Regions from separate parts of the Homo sapiens genome. Here region 2 is linked to region 1. Evidence: promoter capture Hi-C in 16 types of primary human blood cells and fetal thymus (Javierre and others, 2016). All regions are on one chromosome and are shown on one strand. Each heading gives the region's core, a stretch centred on a gene start or on the middle of the fragment in contact. The rest is flanking DNA. Distances are from core to core; before and after follow the strand shown. Region 1 holds the start of SNX6 (sorting nexin 6). Region 2 has its middle 26 kb from the start of NFKBIA.

The links. The method cuts DNA at HindIII sites, captures the fragments that hold promoters and counts their contacts. A CHiCAGO score of 5 or more calls a contact.
Region 2: a contact is called between a fragment that was not itself captured here and the fragment with the promoter of SNX6 in region 1, in 4 of 17 cell types (total B cells, fetal thymus, neutrophils and 1 more). The highest score is 7.1, in total B cells.

The regions. Positions count from the first base shown.
Region 1 is chr14:34,627,291-34,634,271 of GRCh38, forward strand. SNX6 (sorting nexin 6) reads right to left here and starts at 2,858. Exons shown (of 14, transcript NM_152233.4): 1 at 2,821-2,858; 2 at 2,617-2,664. The coding sequence starts at 2,826. RefSeq lists a silencer at 2,612-2,961 and an enhancer at 3,132-3,181. The HindIII fragment of the contact is 3,459 bases long and covers 1-3,304 here.
Region 2 is chr14:35,427,191-35,433,956 of GRCh38, forward strand. It overlaps the pseudogene DNAJC8P1. Among named protein-coding and RNA genes, the nearest start is that of NFKBIA, 26 kb to the left of the region's middle. The HindIII fragment of the contact is 312 bases long and covers 4,176-4,487 here.

The sequences.
Region 1 (6,981 bases), core at 1,608-4,107:
AAAAAAATTAGCCAGGTGCGGTGGCGGGCGCCTGTAGTCCCAGCTACTCAGGAGGCTGAGGCAGGACAATGGCGTGAATCCGGGAGGCGGAGCTTGCAGTGAGCCAAGATAGCACCACTGCAGTCGGGCCTTCGGCCTGGGCGAAAGAGCGAGACTCCGTTTCAAAAAAAAAAAAAATTGTTTTTTCTTTTTTTTCTTTTTTTGAGATGGAGTTTTGCTCTTGTTGCCCAGGCTGGAGTGCAATGGTGCAATCTCAGCTCACTGCAACCTCCACCTCCCAGGTTCCAGTGAATGAATCCAGTGATTCTCCTGCCTCAGCCTCTGAAGTAACTGGAATTACAGGCATGCGCCACCATGCCCAGCTAATTTTTGTATTTTTAGTAGAGACAGGGTTTCACCATGTTGGTCAGGCTGGTCTCGAACTCCTGACCTCAGGTGATCCACTCACTTCGGCCTCCCAAAGTGCTGGGATTACAGGCGTGAGCCACCGTGCCTGGTCTTAAAATTTTTAGGTACAGATGAGGTCTTGCTATGTTGCCCAGGCTGATCTTGAATTCCTGCCTTAAACAATCCTCTTGCCTCGGCCTCCCAAAATGCTGGGATTAAAGGTGTGAGCCATTGTGCCTGGCCGAAACTAAAAATCTTACCAACAACTAGTAATTCTATATGATGCTTTTGCTCTAACCTGAAATTCTAAATAATGCCTTTGTTTACACTGAGAAATTAATTTATAAAAGTATGCAGCACCTTCTCCATCTTTCTTACTATTTAAAAGCTCGGCTGGGCACAGTGACTCACGCCTATAATCGCAGGAGGATCACTTAGGCCCAGGAGTTTGACACTGGCCTGGGCAACATGGTGAGACCCTGTCTCTATAAAAACAAACAGGCCGGGCGTGGTGGCTCACGCCTATAATCCCAGCACTTTGGGAGGCCGGGGTGGGTAGATCACGAGGTCTGGAAATCGAGACCATCCTGGCTAACATGATGAAACCCCGTCTCTACTAAAAATACAAAAAATTAGCCGGGCGTGGTGGCGGGCGCCTGTAGTCCCAGCTACTCGGGAGGCTGAGGCAGGAGAATGGCGTGAACCCGGGAGGCGGAGCTTGCAGTGAGCCAAGATAGCGCTACTGCACTCCAGTCTGGGTGACAGAGCAAGACTCCGTCTCAAAAAGCCAACAAACAAAAACCCAGCTAGGCATGGTGGCCCGTGCCAGTAGTCCCAGCTACTTGGGAGGCTGAGGTGGGAGGATCACTTAAGCCCAGGAGGTCAAGGCTGCAGTGAGCTATAACCATGCCACTGCACTCCAGCCTGGGCAACAAAGGGAGATACTGTCTCATAAAACCAAATAAATAAATAAAAGTTTTATAAAAGTCATCAGTTCATACTAACTACCTCATCTGTTATTACAAACAGCAATAACATCCCACAATATTTTATCACCTACCAAATATGCACTAACAGATGTCTCTCTCACATTAAAACGGATAAGAAAAAGCAAAAGGGAAAACTGAAGTGCAGGCTGTGAAATGTGAAGGAACCATGGAACCTTGCTGAATGGTAATTATCATATATCAACATTTTCCAAGTGCTCACTTGTACAAGGGACTATAAAGATTACCACCCTTCAGCCAAGGAAAAAGGGGGTGGAGAGTGGGGTGGGAGGGAGGAATCAGAGCCCGGAAGGCTCTTTCTGAAGTAGAATGCAACTAACCTCAGAACACCAAGGGCAGAATGGAGGTTATCAAAGGCCTGGCGGAGTGTGTATGTGGGGGGTGAGTGGGTGGAGCGTCGATGTTGGTCAAAGGGTACATACTTGAAATTTGCTTAGATCTCAAATGTTCTCACACAAAAAAAAATGGTAACTAGGTGAGGTGATGGATATGTCAGGTTGATTTTGGTACTCATTTCACAATGTATTCGTGTATTAAAATATAATGTATACCTTAAGTATATACAATTATCAACAGTATTTGTCAATATACCTCAAAGAAGCTAAGGGGGAATAAAACACCAAGGAAATCCTGCCAAAGACAGGATTTGTTGGATATTAGAAAAAGTAAAGATACCATGGGCTACCTGCACTTTGCATAATCTAGTAGGGCACTGGACAGGAGTTGATTCGGCTACTATAAAAATCCTTGCAAAATGGTAATGTAGACTACACCTGTACTATTTGAGAGAGACAGAAGGGTGGGCGGGAGCAAGTTCGAGATGTCCACACCGGGTGAAAATTGAGGGTGCCGCTGGGAAGGTCCGAGAATGGGTTTTCATGGCCCCAAAGTGTCGAGGGAGGGTGGGGGCGTTCCATCTCCCGCCTCCATTTCCACTTCGCCACCTGCACCCCGCCCCGCGTGGGAGTGGAGGTCCACCAGAAGGCCCGAACAGCGGCGGGGGACAAGAAAGCGGCCGCGGGTCCCCGGGAATCGGAGCCGAGCGGCCCCTAGGGAGGAAGGGCTGCGGGAGGGTGGGGCGCGGTGCAGCGAGGAAACCGAAAGGAGGACTACGGGGAGGGAGTGCCGCGCGGCTGGGGACCCATCCCCGTACCACACCCGGGGACCCAGGATGGGGAAGGAGGGTCCAGGGTCCCGCGAGCGAAAGGAAGGCAGAACTTACTCCGCGGTCCTCTTCTGAGAGGAAGTCCGGGCCGTCGTCCAGGCCTTCCTGTGGGGTCGGCGGGCACGGCGCGCCGGGGAAAAGGATGAGATGGGGGAGACACAAAGGGAGACATTAGTGACAGGCTGGCGCGGTCCCCGCGCCCGCCCCGCGCCCGCTGCCCCCACCGCGCTCCCGGGACTCGGCGCCGCGGAGAACACCCACCATCATGGCTGCTCCGAGGCGAGGGCCGGCGCAGGCGCGCATCTCCCTGCTGCCGGAGGGAGCCGGCGGCCAGGAGCGGGGCGGGGCGGGGCGGAGGCGAAGGGGCGGGGCCTAAGGACGGCCCGCCCCGTCCCCGGCGCTGGTCGCTCGAGTCCGTGAGCGAGGAAGGTTAACAGGGCCTTCTGCCCAAGGTCAAGGCACCGAAGTCGGGAGAGCCTGAAGACCCAGACCTCATGGCTGGGGGCACCTCGCAGCTGGCGGGCTCTGACCAGGGAAGGGCCAAAGGCCACCCAGGGAGCTCTCCAGTTCCCCTGCCCCGAGGGCTCCAGCGAAAAACGATGCAGGCGCCCTCCGGAAGCCATAATACATCATCTGGTCTTTGTATTATGCCACACGATAATTAATCACAATTAATATCATTTTGCCTATGGAAGTTGCTGGAAACAAGGACCTTCACACAGTCGGTAATCAGGGACTATAATCAAGCTTTTACCGCTGGCGAGGTAATAACTACCTCAGAGTTTGGGGCACTAATGGTTGCGAACTATAAAAATGAGCTGTTTTCATTACAAAAATATTCCTTTCCTTTGTTAGAAGAAATTTCCCCACACCTACTCTAACTGTCCAGGTGGTTAGCATCACACGGGATCCACAGGCATTTCAAATAACGGGAGAAAATCATACTTAATCCTAGAATCTACACGTTCCTGAGCTTGCATTCAGTTAAGGAAAGGCATCTTCAGATGTTCAGACCAGAAACCCTTAACCCATTGAAATCCGTACTCTAGGGGCCGGGCGCTGTGGCTCACGTCTCTAATTCCAGCACTTTGGGAGGCCAAGGCGGGCGGATCACCTGAGGTCAGGAGTTTGAGACCATCCTGGCTAACATGGTGAAACCCCGTCTCTACTAAAAATACAAAAATTAGCCGGGCGTGGTGGCGCGTGCCTGTAATCTCAGCTACTTGGGAGGCTGAAGCAAAAGAATCGCTTGAACCTGGAAGGCAGAGGTTGCAGTGAGCCGAGATTGCACCACTGCACTCCAGCCTGGGCAACAGAGCAAGACTCTGTCTCAAAAAAAGAAAGAAATAAATCCTTATCTCCCTTACTCCTCATATCCAACCAAATCCTATGGCTTCTACAATTGATTGTCCTTCATACCTCTTTTTTTTTTTTTTTTGAGACAGAGTCTCGCTCTGTCGCCCAGGCTGGAGTGCAGTGGTGCGATCTCGGCTCACTGTAAGCTCCACCTCCAGGGTTCACGCCATTCTCCTGCCTCAGCCTCCCGAGTAGCTGGGACTACAGGTGTGTGCCACCACACCCGGCTAATTTTTTTGTATTTTTAGTAGGACAGGATTTCACCATGTTAGCCAGGAAGGTCTTGATCTCCTGACCTCATGATCCGCCCGCCTCGACCTCCCAAAGTGCTGGGATTACAGGTGTGAGCCACTGCGCCCAGCCCATACCTCTTTAATTAGTCCAATTTTTCCAGTTCTCACAGCAATTACCATCAACTCTCGTCTACACCTTTGCAATACTCTCCTGACTCCACTATTTTCCATCACTTTATCCTATTTTACACACTGCTGCCAGTTTTCCTCCTAAAACACAGATATTGATGATTATGCTACTACCCTGTTCAGTAATCTTTACAAGCCCCCATTACATAACGATTCAATTCCTCAGCCTACGATTTCAAGCCTTCTACATTTGAATCCCTCTCTACTCTGCCAGGCCCTCCATCCTATTTTATTGAAGTGAAGCTCTCAAAACAATATTAAACTTAACTGATATTTTGGCCGGACGCAGTGGCTCACACCTGTAATCCCAGCACTTTGGGAGGCCAAGGGGGGCAGATCATCTGAGGTCAGGAGTTCAAGACGAGCCTGGCCAACATGGTGAAACCTCATCTCTACTAAAAATACAAAAATTAGCTGGGTGAGGTGGTGCGCACCTGTAATCCCAGCTACTCGGGAGGCCAAGGCAGGAGAATTGCTTGAACTCGGGAGGCAGAGGTTGCAGTGAGCCAAGATCATGCCACCACACTCCAGCCTGGGTGACAGAGACTGCGTCTCAAAAAGAAAATAATAAATAAAAATTAAAAATTTAAAAAAACCACTTAACTGATATTTTCATAAGAACTTCTTGTAGCTTTCATTTTGTATGTAAGGAGAACTGAAGTATAGAGAGGTTAAGTTACTGCTCCAACAAAGGTTACTCTACGAAATGGGGGGCGGGGAAGGGACTTTATTTTTTGTCTTTTGTTTCTTGTTTCCCAGCGCATTGTGGTGACTACTAAAGTAGTCTTTTTCACTGGGAGTCATGAGGCATCATGTGGTGTCATTGTAGTGTGATGAAGTGTCGGGAGGAATGTTCCAGTAATTTGTTACCTACTAAAAGTGCCACTATTTCCTATTGGTTTGTTTTTAGATTAAAGGTAATGTCTGCAAAGCTCTTCCTAGGTGGAGAGAGAGGAGTGGAGCCACAATAAATGAGAGGGATTTACATACAACTGATAGGAAGGCCAAGTGCGTCCTTGTGGACAAAGGTTGAGAAGTGCCACAGAGAACCACCTGAAATGCCTCCTATCATTAACCAAGAGTTTTAAATTTCAGCATTTAAATAAAGTCCAGCCTGGGCGTGGTGACTCACCCCTGTAATCCTAGCACATTGGGAGGCTGAGGTGGGAAGACTGCTTGAGCCTAGGTGTTGAAGACCAGCCTGGGCAACATGGCAAAACCCTATCTCTACAAAAAATACAAAAATTAGCCGGGTATGGTGGCACACACCTGTGGTCCCTGCTACTTGGGAGGCTGAGGTGAGAGGATCACTTGATCCCAGGGAGGCTGAGGCTGCAGTGAGCCATATCGAACCACTGCACTCCAGCCTGGGCAACAGAGTGAGACCCTATCTAAAAAAAAAAAGAAAAAAATATTAAACAAAGTCCAGAAACATTGTAATTCCCAAATGCCAAAACTTTAAAATCATTAGTTATGAAAAAAAGAGGTAGGATCTAAAATATAAGCAACTCAACTAAAATTATCAACAAAGGCATGGTAATTACTGCAGCCATAATTCATAGCTGAAAACTCACATGAGTACAGAACCCAATCTTGAAACGATAAACTTGTTAATTAATATCAGCGCTTTCCTTTCTGAGCAAAGGTCTCCAGCTATATTTTGTGAATGATAAAAAGGAATTGTCAGTAACTGATTCTAACAACTGTCAAAAGGCCAAGTTATAGAAATTAAGGAATTTCAGAAGAAAAGAAGTTAAGAAAAGTTTACATGACAGATTTTTCTGCTACTGATAAAATAAAGAAGATATTAAAGGTGAACCACTCTTCTAATATTTGTAACCAAATAATCAATTTTTCATTTTGTTTTGATAGATTTCTATGAAATTATCTACTTCTATACAAATGTAATGAACTAATTATGCTGAATTGCTGTCTGATTACTTAATAGATTTAGCTAAAGTAAAATGTTGATTGTGAATAGTTAATAGTGTGCTTCAAAAACAAATGTATTGAAAGATTTTAGAGAAGAGTAAAATTTTAGAGAATAATGAATGTTATTTTTAAATTTTAAAAATAAAAAATAGTATTTGCTTTCAACATTTTTGTCAAAAATCAAGGTTTTTCTAGAAAAAAATTTTAATATAAAATGACAATTATTTAATTATAGAAGAAAAATGTTTAATTCCTTTCCTTTTATTATGTTCTGATCAAAGAAGATTTCACCAAAACATATTTTTGCCAATTTCTCACTTCCTCAAATTCTAGAAGATCCCTTTTTGTTTTAGATAACCCGTGGATCCTAATTTTTTCCTCCTACTCCACAGGAGTTATGCTACAGCAAAATTCTCTATAGGAAGATTGCTGAACTCTGTTATTTCCAAGATGTGCTGTATCAATCAGGATGCCTTTAGCTGCAAGTAACAGATAACATCAATTCAAATAAACTTGAGCAGTAAGGAAACTTATTATTTTACCACCACCACCACAACAACAACAAAATCAAGAAACTAGGTGTTTCTGGGCATAGTACAACCAGTGGGTAATGGTGTCATCAAGAACCTAGATTTCTTCCAACTCTCCACTCTGCCACCTTCAGTAACAACCTCATTCCAAGGCTGGTTCTCTTCATGATCCAAGATTACTT
Region 2 (6,766 bases), core at 3,082-5,581, 800 kb after region 1:
ACTATTGGCCATGCATTGTTGTTGACCCTAGACCCACCCAGGAACAAGTCTCTGTGTTATGAAGCTTATATTCTAGATAGAGTGAAAGACAATAAACAAGGTAATATGTAAGGGAACGTCAGAGAGTGATAAATACTATATACAAGTGTAAAACAGGGAAAGGAACTGGAGAGAGACTGGAGATGCTATTTTGGAACATATAGTCAGGAAGGCCTCTGTGTGGAGGTGATAGTTTTAGAAGTTTCTGGGGAGCTGAGATCATAGGAAGGAAAGAATTGAGCCAAGACTTGGTTCAGAGGAAGTTGTTGGAAGACAACATAGGAAATTATGACATCTGAACATAAACAAGACCAAATGCACAAAATGTAAGGACAAATATTAAAGTACATTAAGATGCAAAGCATCTCTATGACAAGTTACCTAAAAAAAGAGTTAAGCTGTAGACTTTGGTGCTTTTTTTTTTTTTGAGATGGAGTTTTGCTCTTATTGCCCAGGCTGGAGCATAATGGCGCAGTCACTGCAACCTCCGCCTCCCGGGTTCAAGCGATTCTCCTGCCTCAGCCTCCTGAGTGAGTAGGTGGGATTATAGGCATGTGCCACCATGCCCAGCTAATTTTGTATTTTTAGTAGAGACGGGGTTTCATTGTGTTGGCCAAGCTGGTCTCAAACTCCTGACCTCAGGTGATCTGCCTGGCTTGGCCTCCTAAAGTGTGGGGATTACAGGCTTGAGCCAATGTGCCCGGCCAAGACTTTGAAATGATATTTAGGAGTGTAAATTAGCACAGTCAATTTCAAGATAATTTGTTATATACATTCATAGGAAGAAGGAAATTTTTGGTTTTGGGGGTCAGGGACCAAGTCATTATCAGGGTATGCTGCATTTCTTTTACTTTATATAACTGTGTCTTTCTGTGTTCTACAGAGAAACAGCTTGAAAATGGGGTACTATCCAAATGTCAGTTAGTGTTATTATTGATGATTTTGTGACTCCTACTGTGCCTCTCATGCACTATGATGGTAAAATGTATCCGTTCTCTAAAGAAAGGCACTATGGCTGCAGTGAGCCATGGTCATGCCACTTCACTCCAGCCTGGGCAACAGAGCAAGACCCTGTCCCAAACAAAGCAAAACAAAACAAAAGCAAAACACTATCCTTATCCTTTTTCTTTTCTTTTGACAATATAGGCAGATAATAATGTTCAAGTTTTCTTGGAAGATCAGGAAAAAAAATAGTGAAATAGATCATCTTTATTCCTGCATTATTTTTGTGCAGAGAGGGATGTTCCCATTCTACCATCCTCTGCAGCTTTTCTCTAGACAGGATGTCTACTTTTCTACTGACTACCTTTTCCAGGGTAGGAGGGTAGGGCAGGGCATTGGAAAGAGGTGAGCTTTAGGTCAGTTTTAACAAAACACAATGTTATAGATACAATTGAAGCCCCTTTTGAAGCTCTTTGCAATCTCAATTCCCTGACTCCTTTGCCAATATGTATTCTTCCTATATTTTCATACTTTTGGTACATATGAATGTATCTGTAAATAATGGATATTAATACTATTAAGTCTTACATAAATGGTATCTTAAATGTATCCTTTTGCAAATTACTTTTCCATTCACCATTATGATTTGAGATTTACTCATATGGATTCATGTTGTTCCTTCACGTAACTTCATTGCTATATTCTACATTTATTCATCCATTTCCTTACTTGTGATAGACAATACTATGGTGAATATTTTCTGTATGTGTCCCCTTAGGCACATCCATGATGGTTTCTTCAGGGCAGTGATACTCAAAGTGTGATGCATGAACCAGCAGCATCAGTATGACCTGGGATTTGTTAGAAATGTAAATTTTTGGGCTTTAACCCATGCTTACTGAATCAGAAACGGGGGTGGGGTGGGGTGGGGCCTACCAAACTACTTTAATAAGTTCTCCAGTGATTCTGACGCACACTAAAGTTTGAGAATTACTGTTCTAGCTATAATTTTATAGAATTGCTGGGTTATAGGATATGTGTATTTACAAATTTATGAGATTTAGACAAATTGTCTTTAAAGTGATTGTGCTAATTTACACTCTATTTTTAAAAAAGCTTAAGTAATGTTTTTGTTACTTTAATACATTGAATATTAATTTATTAAGCTGAAGTAACATCTCATCTGTCCATACAGGCAGCCCTTGAAGACATTTTGTTTTACTTTATTTTATTTTTTTTGAGATGAAGTCTCACTCTGTTGCCCAAGCTGGGGTGCCGTGGTACAATCTCAGCTCAGTGCAGCCTCCGCCTCCCGGGTTCACGCCATTCTCCTGCCTCAGCCTTCCAAGTAGCTGGGACTACAGGCGCCCGCCACTACGCCCGGCTAATTTTTTTGTATTTTAGTAGAGACGGGATTTCACTGTGTTAGCCAGGTTGGTCTCGATCTCCTGACCTTGTGATCCGCCCGCCTCGGCCTCCCAAAGTGCTGGGATTACAGGCGTGAGCCACTGCGCCCGGCCAATTTACACTCTTAAATATAGTTTCTGCCCATAGATTTTAACTTTTTAAAAAAGTTGTGGGGAAATGGCGGCTTCAGGAGAGAGCGGGACTTTGGGCGGCGGAGGCGGCACAGAGGAAGCATTTATGACCTCCTACAGTGAGGAATAAAGATGGCATACAGCATACCTCATATTCATTCCAACCCTGACAGTGACACCAAGAATGTTTTCCTGGGACTGCCTGGTGCTTGTTCTCCCGGGCCTTGTCTTCAGGGGAAACAAATAGAGAAGGGAGACTTGGTTCTAACATCCAAAAACCACATTGAAAGACTGACCCGTCCTGGTTCCTCTTACTTCAATTTGAACCCATTTGAGTTTCTTCAGATAGATCCTGAAGTTACAGATGAAGAAATAAAAAAGAGGTTTCGGCAGTTATCCATCTTGGTGCATCCTGACAAAAATGAAGATGATGCTGACAGAGCACAAAAGGCTTTTGAAACTGTGGACAAAGCTTACAAGTTGCTACTGATCAGGAGCAAAAGAAGAGGGTCCTGGATGTAATTTAGGCAGGAAAAGAATACGTGGAACACACTGTGAAAGAGAGAAAAAAAAAAAACAATCAAAGAAGGAAGGAAAACCTACGATTGTAGAGGAGGATGATCCTGAGCTGTTCAAACAAGCTGTATATAAACAGAAAATGAAACTCTTTGCTCAGCTGGAAATTAAAAGGAAAGAGAGAGAAGCCAAAGAGATGCATGAAAGGAAACGGCAAAGGGAAGAAGAGATTGAAGCTCAAGAAAAAGCCAAACGAGAAAGAGAGTGGCAGAAAAACTTTGAGGAAGGTCGAGATGGTCGTGTGGACAGCTGGCGAAACTTCCAAGTCAATACAAAGGGGAAGAAAGAGAAGAAAAATCGGACCTTCCTGAGACCACCGAAAGTAAAAATGGAGCAGCATGAGTGACCACCCGGGGTCACAGGCACAGAACCTTCCCCCTGCTATCTCCCTTCCTGCTTCGAAGGACTCATTCTTTCCTCCCACTTCCACCTCAACATAGAGTAGTATTTGCTTTTTAGTCTGTTTCGTTTTGAATACAATTTAATATCGATCAGAGTAATTCTTTTGTACAATGAAATGAGGGGACTGGTTTAAAAAAAGACCTTCCTCCTCCCTGCCCCTAGAACAACCAGGATTGGAAGGTGGCACCATTGGTGCTGCCTTCTCTTCCCACAGCCTGTAACTCAGTGTTTTGTACTTCACTGAATTGTGATGGTTAGAAACTTCGTCCTAGTTTGTGGAAATCATCCAATTAAACATATTACTTAAAATGGTGTTGCTGTGACGTCAGAGACAGGCCTGGAAGGGGCACTTTGGAAGCCCCTTGGCTTCAGTTGCTCGCTTCTGGGTGTGCTCCCTTAGAAGGCCCAGATAAGACAGGGAACACCTGTGGGCACACAGAACAGGCACCTGATGCCCTGATGCCCTGTGGTGTTTGGCATGTGCCCCCTGTCTACTGACCAATCAGCATGGCATGAGGCCCACGCCACCCAAACCTTTCACTTTCCAAAGAGCTAGCCGTCCTCCTCCCAGTACCATGGTGTCCTAGCCTGTCTGCATTTGTTAGTAGTAATATTCTTTATGTATAATAAATTTTTATAACTACCCCCCCAAAAAAGTGGTAACTATTGTCATAGAGAAGCTTTGCTTTTTGTTGTTTTTTAATAATTTCAGCTTTTATTTTAGATTCAGGGAGTACACGTGCAGGTTTGTTACATGCGTACATTGCTTGATGTTGAGATGTGGAATACAAATGATCTTGTCACCCCGGATAGTGAGTATAGTACCCAGTAGGTAGTTTTTTAATTCTTGCTCCATTCCCCCCTCGCCGCTCTAGTAGTCCCCATATCTATTGTTTCCATCTTCATTTCCATGAGTTCCTAATGTTTAACTCCCACTTATAAGTGAGAACATGCCATATTTGGTTTTCTGTTCCTGCGTTAATTTGGAGAAGCTTTACATTTTTTTTTTTTTTGAGATGGAGTCTCGCTCTGTCACCAGGCTGGAGTGCAGGGGCTTGATCTTGGCTCACTGCTACCTCCACCTCCAGGGTTCAAGCGATTCTCCTGACTCAGCCTCCCAAGTAGCTGGGACTACAGGTGCATGCCACCATGTCTGGCTAATTTTTGTATTTTTAGTAGAGGCAGGGTTTCACCATGTTGGCCAGGATGGTCTAGACGTCTTGACCTCATGATCTACGCGCCTCGGCCTCCCAAAGTGCTGGGATTACTGGCGTGAGCCACCACGCCTGGCCGAAGCTTTACATTTTAATATAGTTTAATTTAATACGTGTGTTTGTTTTATGCTTTTCATCTTGTTTGTGTCCAGATGTCATAGAGAATCTTCTAATCTTCTAAATTGTCTTCTAATTACTTTAAATTTTCATTTTTCCCAATTAGGTGTTTAAACATTTAAAAATTAATCCAAGTATAGTAGTGCTTTTTTCTGACCCAGCTTGCTAAAGGGACAGGGCTCCTGACAACTTTAAAGAATCTGGATGGTCTACTAAAAGATAAATTCAAATAGTGTCATTTTAGGCACAGATTTGTTGTTGGGGGCGCGGTGTGAGAGTGGTGATGGGTAATATGTGCATGGTAACAACAACAATAAAAAATTTCAAGCCTCTTGCCATGTGGCCTGTTGTCCCAGCTACTTGGTGGGGGGTGGGGGGGGTGCTGAGGCAGGAGGATTGCTTAAGGCCAGGAGTTTGAGCCCTTGAATAACCACTGCATTCGGCCTGGGCAACATAATGAGACCCTTTCTCTTAAATCAAAACAATCAAACATCCAACAGGTTTACAATAATGAAAAACAAATTTATTTTAAGATTAATAGGGGAGAAGTTAGCACTGTGTTTTCTACAGTTTTTTAATTTATAGTGTTGGGGATTTTGTGACTTTTTGATTGACTGATTGAGACAGGCTTTGTCACCCAGACTGGAGTGCAGTGGCTCAATCATGGCTCAATGCAGACTTAACCTCACTTTTTGTAGAAACTGGGTTTCACTATGTTACCCAGGCTGGTCTTGAACTGCTGGCCTCAAGTGACCCACTCGCCTTGGCCTCCCAAAGTGCTGGAATTACAGGCGTGAGCTACTGAACCTGGCCCCTTGTGACCTTCTCTATTTTAGTGCATCATAGATGCCATTACATGTGGGTCCCATTCAACACGCAGGCTATGAAAACTGCACTATTTGAAAGTACATTGCTTGCAGATATGGGATTCTTAGTACAAATTCCAAGAAAATAGGGCTTGGGGGGTAATTTGTAGTTTACTGGGAAAGAGCCTTCCAATATTTTCAGCGGATCCCAGAAGATTCCCCATTCTAATCTTGTGGCTGGAACAATGCCGAGCACATAGTAAGTGCTTTATAAGTGTTGATTCACTGATTGATTATAGAAGGTGCTGAACTACCCAAACTTTTGACTTTGACATCTACCTAGAAGTGCTTGTCCTGCAGAGGAAAGCTGAGATCCTGGTATTAACGTATACTATAGAGCAATGATTTATCAAGTCTGCCCACCTGCTATTTTGAGTATTTAAAAATTGCAACAAACATGGTGCTTTGGAATGATTTATTAATGTACAATTTGTACATTAATATTGTTAGGCATGGATTTTAGTTCAACATACTTTGCATTAAGTTCAGTTCAAAGAGTATTTTTGTGAAATTACTGTGTGCTTCACTAACCTCTGAGGGCACAATGATGAGGGCACAATCTCTGCTTTAACTTAATCAGGATGATGCTCCCTCTCTGTATTATAAATATGGAAAACAAGGCCTATCTAATCTTAGTCCATATTTGTCTGGCAAAATTCTTACCTTATATTAAAAAAAACCACACAAAGTCTTTAATCGTATGTCTAAGCCCAAAACAATATTCCCAGTAGGCCTTATGGAATTGGGTAAAGGATTCAACAATAAGGGAAGCAATGTTTCAGAGGGCAGAAGTGAGATGCATGTTGGTTTATGGAACATGAAGGAAATAGTAGGAAGCCGTTATTAATCTAACTACACCATTCCCCATACAAAGCCTGGAAGGAGTCTCCCTGACTAGGAAGTGGTGTCGCGGGGCTCCCCTATCTACAGTTAAATGTGCTTGTGAAGGGTGTCTGTTGCCTTCTTTCTTCTCTAGTATGCACCAGCACCCTTCCACCCACCACTCAATTCTCCTTGTACTTTGGTTTTGCTTTGCCTGGCTCAATTCAGGGCTTTGCAATATAATGTCTAG